Linked DNA regions of Homo sapiens: region 1 is linked to region 2. The links are contacts of gene promoters, found by promoter capture Hi-C in blood cells and fetal thymus (Javierre and others, 2016). All regions are on one chromosome and are shown on one strand. The core of a region is centred on a gene start or on the middle of the fragment in contact, and the rest is flanking DNA. Distances in the headings are between cores, read along the strand shown. Region 1 holds the start of MAN1B1 (mannosidase alpha class 1B member 1). Region 2 holds the start of CCDC183 (coiled-coil domain containing 183).

Region 1 (5,687 bases), core at 1,789-4,288, 290 kb before region 2:
GGCCTGGCCCCTTCTTCCAACGTTTCCAGAGGACACAAACCACCTATACCTAGGGACTCCTAAAACCTGTCTCCCCTGGCAGACTCTGATCCTGGCACCACCTGCCCACCAAGGTCTCCATGGCGCCTCCCAGACATCTCACAGTGGGCAGATCCAAAACGGAGCTCCTCAGTGTCCCCAAGCCAGAGCCTGCACAGCCTTTGCTGGCCCCTCCACCCGGGGACTCACCCTCCTTCTCCCAAGGCCCACTCCTGCGGAGCACTCCTCCCCCCACTCAGCTTTTCCCACGGCCAGGCAGCTCTCCTGGCCTCCTGCCCTCCACTGTGTCTCCACCCAGCCAGAGCAGTTTCACAGTAAACATCTCAGACCTCCAGTCCACGCCAAAATCTTCCCGCATACATCAACTGGACCCTCCATGCTGCCTCCAGGACCTGCAGGACCACAGCTGGACTGAGCCAACCCCTGCTCCCTCTCCCAGCCCTGGGAATTTCACCTTCCCGCATATGCCAAGGTCCTCCTTGCCTCAGGCAGTTTCACTCAGGCTCAAGTCTGCCTCTCCCCACCTTGCCCGGTGCCAGCAGCTTCTCAGCCCTCAGATCTTGCCCTCAGTGCCACGGCCTCCCCTGAACCCTCAGGACCAGCCACTGTTCTTCACCAGCGCCCTGCTCTTTTCCACATAGGATGTACACCATGTGCCATCTGCCTCTGCCCATCTGTGCCTGGCTTCTCACCAGCCTCTCCTACCAGCTGTGGCCTCTTGAGAGGAAACAGGTCTGTCTTATTCAACACTGCACAGTCAGAAGTAAAACCGGAACTGGCCATGGCTGGTCTTCAAAAAGAATGAAGCAAAGACTACGCCTCTCTTTCCCCAAGTATTATCCGACCAGTCCAAAACGAGAGAGAGGTAAACACGTGGTAATAAATGGTAAAGGAAAATAATTCTTCTCAATCTTCAGTGGTTTGAAATGCCTCTGGATTGAACCCCAGTTATAACCCCACACCATTTGCTCAAAGTACCTGTGACGAAATCTCAGGTAAGTTCTCAGGGTCGGTGTCCGCCTTCTGAGGAGCTGGTAAGACGGGTGGATTTGCTGGTTTTAACCCAGCAATTTCTGGCCTCATCTTCTGCTCTTCCTCTAGCCTGAAAGCCAGAGCTGAATAACAGAAGCTATTTTATTTCAAATATGCCACAAGGCCTACAAGAGATTTAAACTGCTTTATAAAAACACTTGGCAGGCACTATCCATTACAAATCAACATTATGATACCTGATAGTCACTGAAATGAATTCAACAATGTCCCAAGGGAATGAAATCTTTTTCAAAACACTTGGCAGTTTGTGTCCTTGTCCATAACACAGAACCCCACATCTTTTGCCTTCCTATTTTCCATTCAGGGACGTTCAGCATGTGGCAGGTGGGCAGGAGCCCTTTAGCTTTGCTCCAAAGAGAAGCATCTTAGACCAAGTGAGAAGAGATTCTCCACATCCTCACCAGAACTCTGCCTGGTCTTTTCCAAACACACGCTAATGAGTGCTACGAAATTTGTGTGGTTATTTAGGCTGAGTGTTCAAGCCCACCAGCTGACTTACTCTATAAGGGAGGCTGGACATATCAGTACTTACACCAGAGACCTAGAAAGTAGTCAGACAGCATCAAATTAACATCTGTGTTCTAGCCAGGTGGTTACATACAGCTCTACCTTTCTCTTTATCTTGATTTCTTGCCAATTCGTTGCCATATATGCCTCCTGGAGCTGTTTAAGGTAGAATGCAAGATTGCTTCTGCCCAATCAACCCTCAACACAGATATCGTTTTCAAGTACACGTGTTTCTGATACCTTTCCAATGGTCAGCCAAGTTGATGTAGAAGAGGAGTCCACAGAAAAGCAGAAAGGCAAGGAGGAAGAGAATCATATTCCGCTGCAATCTCGACAGTTGCTTCCATTTCTAAGGGAGGTACAGAGAATGACATTTCTTACTGAATATATCACACGGAACGTCTCAACTGTCACAAACTGTGAGGACAATAAGGAATTCTTCTGGAAGATCCAGTGTTCAGCTCTATTTCTTTTTTTTTTTGGAAACAGGGTCTCATTCTGTTACACCTAGGCTGGAGTGTAGTGGGTGGAACGCGGGATGAGCCACCGTGCCCGGCCAGCTCTATTTATTTTGAATGGGGAGAAGTTCCCTCTCAGCAGGGAGTAGGAACATTGCTGGGACAATACTACAGATGTCGTTAATACAGTGGTGCAGATGAGACGAGGATAAGAAAAAAGCAGAAACATTTCTGTCACATTTCATCAACAGTGGAGAAAGACTCCTGCGACTCCCACAGATGTAGCCCAGGCACCGCCCAGGCGATGCACAGTCCGCATGTGGTTATCAATGCCCTTCGGCCTGAGACCACCACGAACAGACCAGGAGCCAATCAAGAGGGGCTCATTTCTCACTGTACCGAGGGGAGCATACACCACGGGGAACCTCCGGTTTCCGCTCCAAGAGGGGCAGGCGCCTGGGCCAGGACCTTGCAGAAAAGCGAACGAAGCCCAGAAAACCTGCTGGGGCTCTGAGCCCTCTTCCCACCACCGCCCCGCAGAATTTGGGCCGCTGAGACCGCTGCAGGCGAGCCGCCCACGGCTGCCCCAACCAGGAACGCACATTTGCCCCTTTTTGCGGGGAAGGGGTGGAGAGGGCGGCGCCTGGGGAGTCGAGTCCGCCCGCCCAGGTCCCGCTCGGAGCCGCAGTCTGGGAGGGCGGCGGGCACGGCAGCCCCGGGCCCCAGTCAGCCCGGCGCGACCCTCACCCTCCAGCACGAGCGCCGCCGCCAACTCTTGCTGTTGTCATAGTTCTCGCCAAAGCTCAGCGTCACCGAGATGAAGTCCCGATGAGGCGGCGGCGGCGGCGGTGGGTACATGACTACAGTGGTGGCGACGGCCCAAGGGGCCCCGCCCACTGGCGGCGTCAGGAAGTCCGACTGAGAGGAACCGAGAGCTCCGCTTCTCCTGCCCTCGCAGGCAGCCATCGCAGCGCCGTCAACAGCCCGCCCATCACACGGATACGCGACTGCGCGTGCGCTGCGTCTCTATGCGGCCAGTGCGCCCGCGCCTGTCTCCGCTGCGCTCCAGCGTACGGGGCTGCGTCCTACGGCGACTGCGTCAGACAACTGCTGCGACTCCGCCCTGCCCTCAGGTTCATTGCGCATGCGTCCGGCAGCGCCTGCCCAGGTGTGCTACGAGCGTAGCTGTAGCAACGGGGCGGGCCTTGGTTCGCCTGGGGCGTGGTCGCTGTCTGGGGCTCCCACGTGGTTCGCCTCATGGGCCTGGAGCTGGGCTTCTCTCGCCTCCTGTCGTCTGGCTGCACCGACTTTGCCCACGCCCTCACGGGAGACGCAGACACTAGGGACCCGGGGAGGCGCCCGGGCGGGGCCGCCATGTTGGCAGAGAGTCCCAGCGTCCCGCGCCTCGGTTCCGGAACCCGCGGCGCGGGGATGGAGCTGGGCTGCCCTTGGGCGCCGTCCTGGGCTGGTGCCCACCCTGGCCGCGTGGTCACCGGCAAGAAGCCCAGGGCCTCACCCAGGCGTGGGGGCCGGGGGAAGGACCGGACCCTCCCGAAGTCGCGGACCAGGCCGGGCGGCACCCGGGCTGGGGTGGCTGCTACCCCGAGCTAAGCTGGCTGCGCCGCATCTCACGGTCCCCGGGGCCCGAGCGCTGCGCCTGGACCGGCGCCGAGCGAGGCGGCCAATCGGCCGGCTGGACCCACAGTCCCCGCGCCATAGGCGGGTCGGGGCTTTCAGACCCGGCTCCCAGCCCTCGAACTCGGTAACCTTGGAGGTCAGCTTGAGATGACTGCGCTTCCTGCACGCGTTGTCCTCCCCAGAAACGCCCAAAATGGCAAAGCGGCGTCCGTGGCCGCCCGAGGCCCTCCCTGCCTGGGTTCTCCCCAGCCGAACCTCACGCCCGGCCCCTCCTTCATTCTCTCCTGGCCAGGCTGCTCCTGCCCTTGGGCGAATCCGCTGCGTCCCACGGTCCTGACTGTGGCATTTCTGCGTGTCTGGAGAGCTCCCCCGGCAGCGACGTCCTGCTTAGCACGTGGCTCGTCTAACTCTGTTCCCCTGGCCTCCTGCTCTTCTAGGGGTCATCTTTAGGTTTCTGCTGGTCTCTGCCCCCTGTGACACTTGCTGGTACCCAAATGAAGTCGTTTATGTCACACTCTAACAAGAGGCCCTGAAGAAGCCCTCACAAAAACATTAGCAACGGAGCGCCTGCGGCAAACCCTTCTAACCTTTGGTCTTTATGGTTTCAAAGCAGTTTATGGGAACTTCTCTTTTTTAAAAGATTCCCCTTGGGGCCAGGCGCGGTGGCTTCTGTAATCCCAGGACTTTGGGAGGCCGAGGCAGGTGGATCACTTGAGGTCAGGAGTTCAAGACTAGCCTGGCCAACATGGTGAGACACCCGTCTCTACAAAAAACACAAAAAAATTAGCAGGGCATGGTTGGTGGCAGGCACCTGTAGTCCCAGCTACACGGGAGGCTTAGGCAGGAGAATTCCTTGAACCCAGGAGGTGGAGGTTGCAGTGAGCCGAGATGGCACCACTGCACTCCAGCCTGGGCAACAGAGCAAGACTCTGTCTCAAAAAAAAAAAAAAAAAAAAAAAAGAAATTTCCCGTGGGCGGGGCACAGTGACTCATGCCTGTAGTAATCCCAGCACTTTTGGAGGCCAAGGTGGGCAGATCCCCTGAGCTCAGGAGTCCAACCTGGGCAACATGGTGAAACCCCTGTCTCTACAAAAAATAAAAAAATGAGTCCAGTGTGGTGGTGTGCACCTGTGGTCCCAGCTACTCTGGAGGCTGAGGTGGGAAGACCACCTAAGCCCCAGGAGGTCGAGGCTGCAGTGAGCCATGATTGCACCACTGCACTCCAGCCTGGGCAACAGAGTGAGATCCAGTCTCAAAAAAAAAAAATTCCCCCTTTCCTCAATCCCCACCCCACCCCCCCACCACATGCCTGTGACCCACTGAGGCTTGCATACTCTGCATTGCAATTATGTGTTATTCTTGATTAAATTCATTTATTCTGGAGAGCCTGAGTTTCTCTTTAGGTTGACACCACTCACTCTTGTCAGTCCCTGGAGTACCCCAAGCATCCTCACGTGGTTAGCAGGGAAACCTTGGCATCTCAAGGATGCAGGTGCAGGAGAGCGAGTCTCCAGGCTGTCAGAGCTGAGCATGCAGAAGCCTGCCCTGGAGAGCGCCCCGAGGTTCCTGACCGCAGGTTGTCTCAGGCCCTCCTGAGACCCTGGTGAAGAGTGGGATGGGACCGCGGGGGGATTCCTTGGCACCCCAAGTAGTCTTGGCCTTCATGTGTGAACTCCTGTCCCTAAGGGGGCCCCCAGTGAGCTCCAGCCCTGGGACACAGCTGTGAACACCTGATCCTTGTTCCCAACACCCGTGCACTGCCCAAAAACTGCACTTGCCAGAGTAGCAGTCAATTACGGCACCTTGTGTTTATTGGAAATATTCCACCTACAGAACATTAAGATGCCAGCAACCGGCCCGGCGCGGTGGCTCACACCTATAATCCCAGCACTTTGGGAGGCCGAGGTGGGTGGATCACGAGGTCAGGAGATCGAGACCATCCTGGCTAACACGGTCAAACCCCATCTCTACTAAAAATACAAAGAATTAGCC
Region 2 (6,411 bases), core at 1,279-3,778:
GTGAGGCAAAGGAGAGGGATGGCAGGGTCCTGTGGTCCCGTCCAGATTTGCTGCCCATGGAAGCAGGTGGGTGTTTTCCTGTCCATTCTGGCTTTGGGGCCCGTGTTGCTCTTATGCTCACGTCTCCTTGAAGCCCCTCTCTCTGATTTAGTCCCTCCATGCAGGTCCCTTTGATCCCTTCTCCCAGCTCTGTCAGGGAGTGGGCAGTAGGGGGGTCTGTTTTCCCCTCCATGTCCTGGATTGTCCCTGTATTAAAACTAAAAGTCCTAGGCCAGGAGCGGTGGCTCACACCTGTAATCCCAGCACTTTGGGAGGCCGAAGTGGGCGGATCACCTGTGGTCAGGAGTTCGAGACCAGCCTGGCCAACATGGTGAAACCCCATCTCTACTAAAAATACAAAACTAGCTGGGTGTGGTGGTGTGTGCCTGTAGTCCCAGCTACTCAGGAGGCTGAGGCAGAATTGTTTGAACCCAGGAGGTGGAGGTTGCAGTGAGCTGAGATTGCACCACTGCACTCCACCTGGACGACAGAATGAGACTCTGTCTCAAAAAAATAAATAAGCTAGGCGCCGGTGGCTCATGCCTGTAATCCCAGCACTTTGGGAGGCCGAGGCGGATGGATCACCTGAGGTCAGGAGTTTGAGACCAGCCTGGCCAAGATGGGTAAACCCCGTCTCTACTAAAAATACAAAAATTAGCTGGGCGTGGTGGTGGGCACCTGTAATCCCAGCTACTCGGGAGGCTGAGGCAGGAGAATCACTTGAACCCGGGAGGTGGAGGTTGCAGTGTGCTGAGATTGCACCATTGCACTCCAGCCTGGGTGACAGAGCGAGACTGCGTCTCAAAATAAATAAATAAATAAAAATACAAATACGAAAATTAGCTGAGTGTGGTGGCGTACACCTGATGTCCCAACTAATCAAGAGGCTGAGCCAGGAGAATCGCTCGAACCCGGGAGGTGGAGGTTGCAGTGAGCCGAGATCATGCCACTGCACTCGAGCCTGCGTGACAGAGCGAGACTCTGTCTCCAAACAAACATCCCCTAAAAGTGAAGGGGGCCTGCCCCTCCACACCTGCGGGTATTTCTCGTCAGGTGGGATGAAGACTGAGAAAAGAAATAAGACACAGAGGCTGGGCATGGTGGCTCACGCCTGTAATCCCAGCACTTTGGGAGGCTGATGCGGGCAGATCACGAGGTCAGGTGATCGAGACCATCCTGGCTAACACGGTGAAACCGCATCTCTACTAAAAATACAAAAAATTAGCCGGGCATGGTGGTGGGTGCCTGTAGTCCCAGCTACTTGGGAGGCTGAGGCAGGAGAATGACGTGAACCCAGGAGGTGGAGCTTGCAGTGAGCCGAGATCGCGCCACTGCACTGCCGTCTGGGCAACAGAGCAAGACTCCATCTCATAAAAAAAAAAAAAAAAGACACAAAGTATAGAGAAAGAACAGTGGGCCCAGGGGACTGGCACACTCAGCATGCGAGGACCTGCACCAGCCCTGGTCTCTGAGTTCCCTCAGTATTTACTGATCATTATTTTTACTATCTTGGTGAGGGGAGTGTAGCAGGGCAACAGGTGGTGAGAACGTCAGCAGGGAAACATGTGAGCAAAGGAATCTTTATCATGAATAAGTTCAAGGAAAGGTACTATGCCCAGATGTGCACGTAGGCCAGATTTGTTTCACGTTACACAAACATCTCAGTGTAGCAAAGAGTAACAGAGCAGTATTGCTGCCAGCATATCTTGCCTCTAGCCACAGAGCGGTTTTCTCCTATCTTAGAATAGAACGAATGGGAATGGTCGGCTTTACACTGAGACATTCCATTCCCAGGGACGAGCAGGAGACAGATGCCTTCCTCTTATCTCAACTGCAAAGAGGCCTCCCTCTTTCACTACTCCTCAGCACAGACCCTTTACTGGTGTCGGGCTGGGGGATGGTAAGATCTTTCCTTTCCCACGAGGCCATATCTCAGGCTGTCTCAGTGGGGGGAAACCTTGGACAATTCCCAGGCTTTCCTGGGCAGAGGTCCCTGCGGCTTTCTGCAGTGCACTGTGTCCCTGGTTAATCAAGAATGGAGGATGGGGATGACTTTTACCAAGCATACTGCCTGCAAACACATTGTTAACAAAGCACATCCTGCACGGCCCTAAATGCATTAATCTTTGATTCAATACAGCACATGTTTCTGTGAGCACAGAGTTGGGGCTAAAGTTACAGGTTAATAGCATCTCAAAGCAGAAACAATTTTTCTTAGTACAGATCAAAATGGAGTTTCTTATGTCTTCCTTTTCTACATAGACAGTAACAATCTGATCTCTCTTTTCCCCACAAAAAGTTGTGCACCCAGAAACCCCCAGACGGGAAAGGGAGACTGGTCACGGCGGTGCAGGCTCACCCTGGAGCTGAGTGATGGTCTTCAGCTCCTGGGTCTGCTCTTCCACATCTGTCTCACTGTGCCTCCTCATGGCTGCTCTCAGGCCCCCCAAGGGACCCTGTGTACCTCAAAGCCTCCCTGGGCTCAGCTTGCTCAGAGCCGCCACTCAGATTGTCCCCAGAACCTCAGCCCATTATGATGAGAGCCAGGATTCTCAGTGCCTGGGCAACCCTGGAATTGCAGGGCCTCCTGCCTCACTCTGCCCCCAGCCACCTTGGGGTGGCCTCCAGACATGTGTCCTAATTGAAATGAGTCTCCTGGCAGCTGCTCGAGGCTTAGGAGCTCTGCCGGGCGGATGTGCTTTCTTTGAGGGGGAGGTTTGTGATGGGTCTGCAGCACCGGCAGCTCACACCTGCACTGGGTTCCCTCCCTGGCCCCTCCCATGCCCCAAGCCATCCTCCACAAAGCAGCAGGCCGAGCCTCCTAAAACGATTCTGATACTATTCTGATACTGCCTTACGGGACCTCCCTCTGCACCCCCCACCCCCAGCCCCAAGTCCAAACTCCATGCACTGGGTAACCTGGCTCTTGGGACACCCCCACCTTATCTCTTCTGACTTCTGTCCCTGACCTCTCTGTGCTGTCTGGAGCCCACCCTGCTTCACCCCCACTTTCCTTTGGGAATTACTGGGTCTTGGGTTCATGTGTCACTCCAGAAAGGGTATGTTCTCCATCTCTGCACCCCCTCCACCCTTCCCTTAGAGGGGAGTACCTGGAGCACCAGGCAGCCTGGAACTCTGTGGGGTATGCACGAGATGGGGTACACACGAGATGGGGTACTTTTTCCCAGCCTTGCCTTAGTAGGCTCAGGCGGCCATAACAAGGTGCCACTGGCCAGGTGTGGAGGCTCACGCCTGTAATCCCAGCACTTTGGGAGGCTGAGGTGGGTGGGTCACCTGAGGTCAGGAGTTCAAGACCAGTCTGGTCAACATGGTGAAACCCCGTTTCTACTAAAAATACAAAAATTAGCCCAGTGTGGTGGTGGGCGCCTGTCCCAGCTACTTGGGAAGCCGAGGCAGGAGAATTGCTTGAATCCAGGAGGTGGAGGTTGCAGTGAGCTGAGATCGCGTCACTGCACTCCAGCCTGCGTGACAGAGTAAGACTCCATCTCAAAAAAACAAAAAACAAAAAAACAAAAAAACAAGGCGCCACCGACTGGGGGATGTGAACAGCAGCCTGGAGGCTGGGGGCTGAGATCACGGGTCAGCAGGGCTGGTGTCTCCTGAGGCCCCTCTCCTTGGCTTGCAGATGCTGTCTTCTCTGTGTCCTCACGTGGCCGTCCCTCTGTGTGTCTGTGTCCTAATTTCCTCTTCTTATGAGGACACCCCAATGACCTCATTTTACCTTAATGACCTCTGGAAAGCCCCTGTCTTCAAATACAGAGACATGCAGAGGTCCTGGGGGACAGAAATTTGGGGGGACCCAAGCCAGCCCGACAATGGCCTTTGCCCATGTGCTGTCACATAGATCCCTTCCCTTTCTGGTCACTGTTTTTGGAAAGCCAGTCCAGGCAAACTCCAGGTTCTCCCTTCTCTCCCTCCCACCCAGGCCTCACCCTCAGGGTGCTGGGATGTCCTGCTAAGGGTGTGGTCTGCTTACCTCCCCCTCGTTCTTGGGGGCCAGGCTTGGAATCTAGCTGAGGCAGAGCCTACCTGCTGTCCTTCTTCCTCAGATATAAAACACCTGAATTTTAGTGGGCGCATGGCTGCCCAGAGCAACTCTGCCTTCCTGAGCATCCTGGCACTGGATGTGCCTGATGACTTCGTTCAGGCCAACAGAGTGAGAGCAGCAGTGGCAGGCAAGCTGCCCTCTCTCCTGCCTCTTAAATGAGATAAAGACACAATGGCCGAAGCTGGTGCAGCCGCCTGGGGCCATGAGGCAGATTTGGGAACAGAGACCATTACAGCAGGGAGCAGACTGAAAGGAGCCTGGTCCCCGATTCCCTGTCAACCCTGGACCACTCACTTGGACTTTTACATGAAAGAAAAATAAAGCTCAGCCCGGCGCGGTGCCCAGCGGCTCACGCCTATAATCCCAGCACTTTGGGAGGCCGAGGTGGGCAGATCACATGAGGTCAGGAGTTTGAGACCAGCCTGGCCAACATAGTGAAACCCCGTCTCTACTAAAAATACAGAATTAGCTGGGCATGGTGGCGCATACCTGTAATCCCAGCTACTCGGGAGGCTGAGGCAGGAGAATCGCTTGAACCCGGGCAGCAGAGGTTGTGGCGAGCTGAGACTGCACCACTGCACTCCAGCCTGGGCAACAAGAGTGAAACTCCATCTCAAAATAAATAAATAAATAAATATTAGCCAGGCGTGGTGGTGGGTGCCTATAATCCCAGCTACTTGGGAGGCTGAGGCAGGAGAATGGCTTGAACTGGTGAGGTGGAAGTTGCAGTGAGCCGACATCACGCCATTGCCCTCCAGCCTGGGTGACAGAGCGAGACTCTGTCTCCAAACAACGACGACAACACCACAAAAAACAGAAAAATAAAGCTCCATCTTGCTGAAGCCACTGTCAACTTGAGCTTCCTGTCACTCTGAAGGCCCAGTAGGTACTCAATAAACTTTCTTTCCAGTGCCTGGCAAGGTGAGGCGTGGCAGCTGAGCTGGGTCGGGGGCAGCAGGGCCCATGCTGTGGGTCTTCGGTGCTGCGGGGAAGCCAGCTGTAACCATGATGGACTTGTGGAGGTTCCGTCTGGTCTCCACCTCTTCCTCCTCTTGGGGCTCGGGGCTGTGTGTAGGCTTGCCCACTCAGAAGCTTTCCCTCCACACAGACACGGCTACAACGGGCTAGCTCTGCCTCTGGGGAGTGACTTTGGCTAATAGATGAGTGGGGAATGATAGGCAGGTGGGCGTGGCCCACAAGTCCCTCCTCTCCCAGCAGCCAGGCTCTGGCCAGCCTGGCCCCTTTTGCTCTGCCCCTACATGCCAAGTGCTACAGAGGCAGACCCCCATACAGAGAGGCTGTGGTGGTGTCACGTGGCCTACGGGGCTGATGCGAACGTCTAATTCTGGGGTTCAGCGCTGGGAACTTCCCTGTACATCCTCAGTATGTAACTTGCATGTGATCCTCATATATCAACTGTAGGGTAATAAAGGTTTCATGTGACCTGTCATCATCTTACCCTTCTGATTTGTTTTTCACCTGGTCAGGTGGAAACTTGGGTGGAGAGAAGGATAAGCCATTTATTAACCCCACGCCCCTAGCACCAGCTGTCACCTTGGACTTGTTGGAGATGCAGGGGCTAGAAAGGAAATGACAGAGTGTACAGGCCCCTTCGACCCCGTGTCCCATAGGTGGTGGCCCCCAGACACACCCTCTCTGCTGGCAGTGCAGAACATGCATCCCAATACCCTAGAGGAGAAACACCACCCCAGGGAGAGCCCTTTCTGCTCCAACCTCCTGGGCAGGTCCCAGGTTGGGGCAGCAGCCATCTGCAGGTGTTTGTCAGGCCTGGCCACACATGCGGACAGAGGATACGACTGGGGTACCCTAGGGTGTGGGGAGGGTCGGCCTGGGGTCAGGGGGCATGAAGGCTGTGTTCCAGACTCCTCCTGCCCCCAATCCTCTGTGCCCCTGCTGGAGCTCTCCTAGCTTCTCTGATCTGTAAAAGGCAAAGAGAGACAAGCTCGAACCACATCCATCGTGGCTGGGCATCCCTGTGCCCATTTTATCATGGCAGAAACTGGGTTCCGTAACAAGGACAACGGGCAGTGGAGGCCAGGCCTGGGTCCAATGCGGGGCTTCTCAGTCCAGCCTCACTCCTCTCGGGTGCCCACGTGGCTGCTGTGGCCTTGCCACACCCTTCACTCTGCACCCTTCCTCTCAATCTCAGGGGCACCCCAGCCCCTCTTGGTTCTTTCTCCTCAAAGGGAGCTCTCCAAGATCTGTCTACTGCGCCCACCCCCAGCTCCAACCCATCTGGCAGTCACATGCTGAGGAGGCCGGGCCAGAGGGAGGGACCTTGT

What was found. Contacts are between HindIII fragments. The CHiCAGO score rates a contact against its expected background, and 5 or more counts as called.
Region 1: the fragment with the promoter of MAN1B1 here is called in contact with the fragment with the promoter of CCDC183 in region 2 in 5 of 17 cell types (naive CD8 T cells, total CD8 T cells, activated CD4 T cells and 2 more); the score reaches 7.3 in naive CD8 T cells.

Annotation. Positions count from the first base shown.
Region 1 is chr9:137,084,336-137,090,022 of GRCh38, reverse strand. It overlaps MAN1B1 (mannosidase alpha class 1B member 1), which reads right to left and starts at 3,038. Exons shown (of 13, transcript NM_016219.5): 1 at 2,805-3,038; 2 at 1,840-1,948; 3 at 1,018-1,154. The coding sequence starts at 3,023. It overlaps MAN1B1-DT (MAN1B1 divergent transcript), which reads left to right and starts at 3,206. Exons shown (of 1, transcript NR_027447.1): 1 at 3,206-5,077. UAP1L1 (UDP-N-acetylglucosamine pyrophosphorylase 1 like 1) reads right to left here. Exons shown (of 9, transcript NM_207309.3): 9 at 5,485-5,687. RefSeq lists silencers at 2,675-2,904, 3,455-3,684 and an enhancer at 2,885-3,114. The HindIII fragment of the contact is 12,458 bases long and covers 1-5,687 here.
Region 2 is chr9:136,792,455-136,798,865 of GRCh38, reverse strand. It overlaps CCDC183 (coiled-coil domain containing 183), which reads right to left and starts at 2,528. Exons shown (of 14, transcript NM_001039374.5): 1 at 2,399-2,528. The coding sequence starts at 2,468. TMEM141 (transmembrane protein 141) reads right to left here. Exons shown (of 5, transcript NM_032928.4): 5 at 5,549-6,047. The coding sequence ends at 6,034. RefSeq lists a silencer at 1,595-1,889 and an enhancer at 2,606-3,107. The HindIII fragment of the contact is 12,043 bases long and covers 1-5,202 here.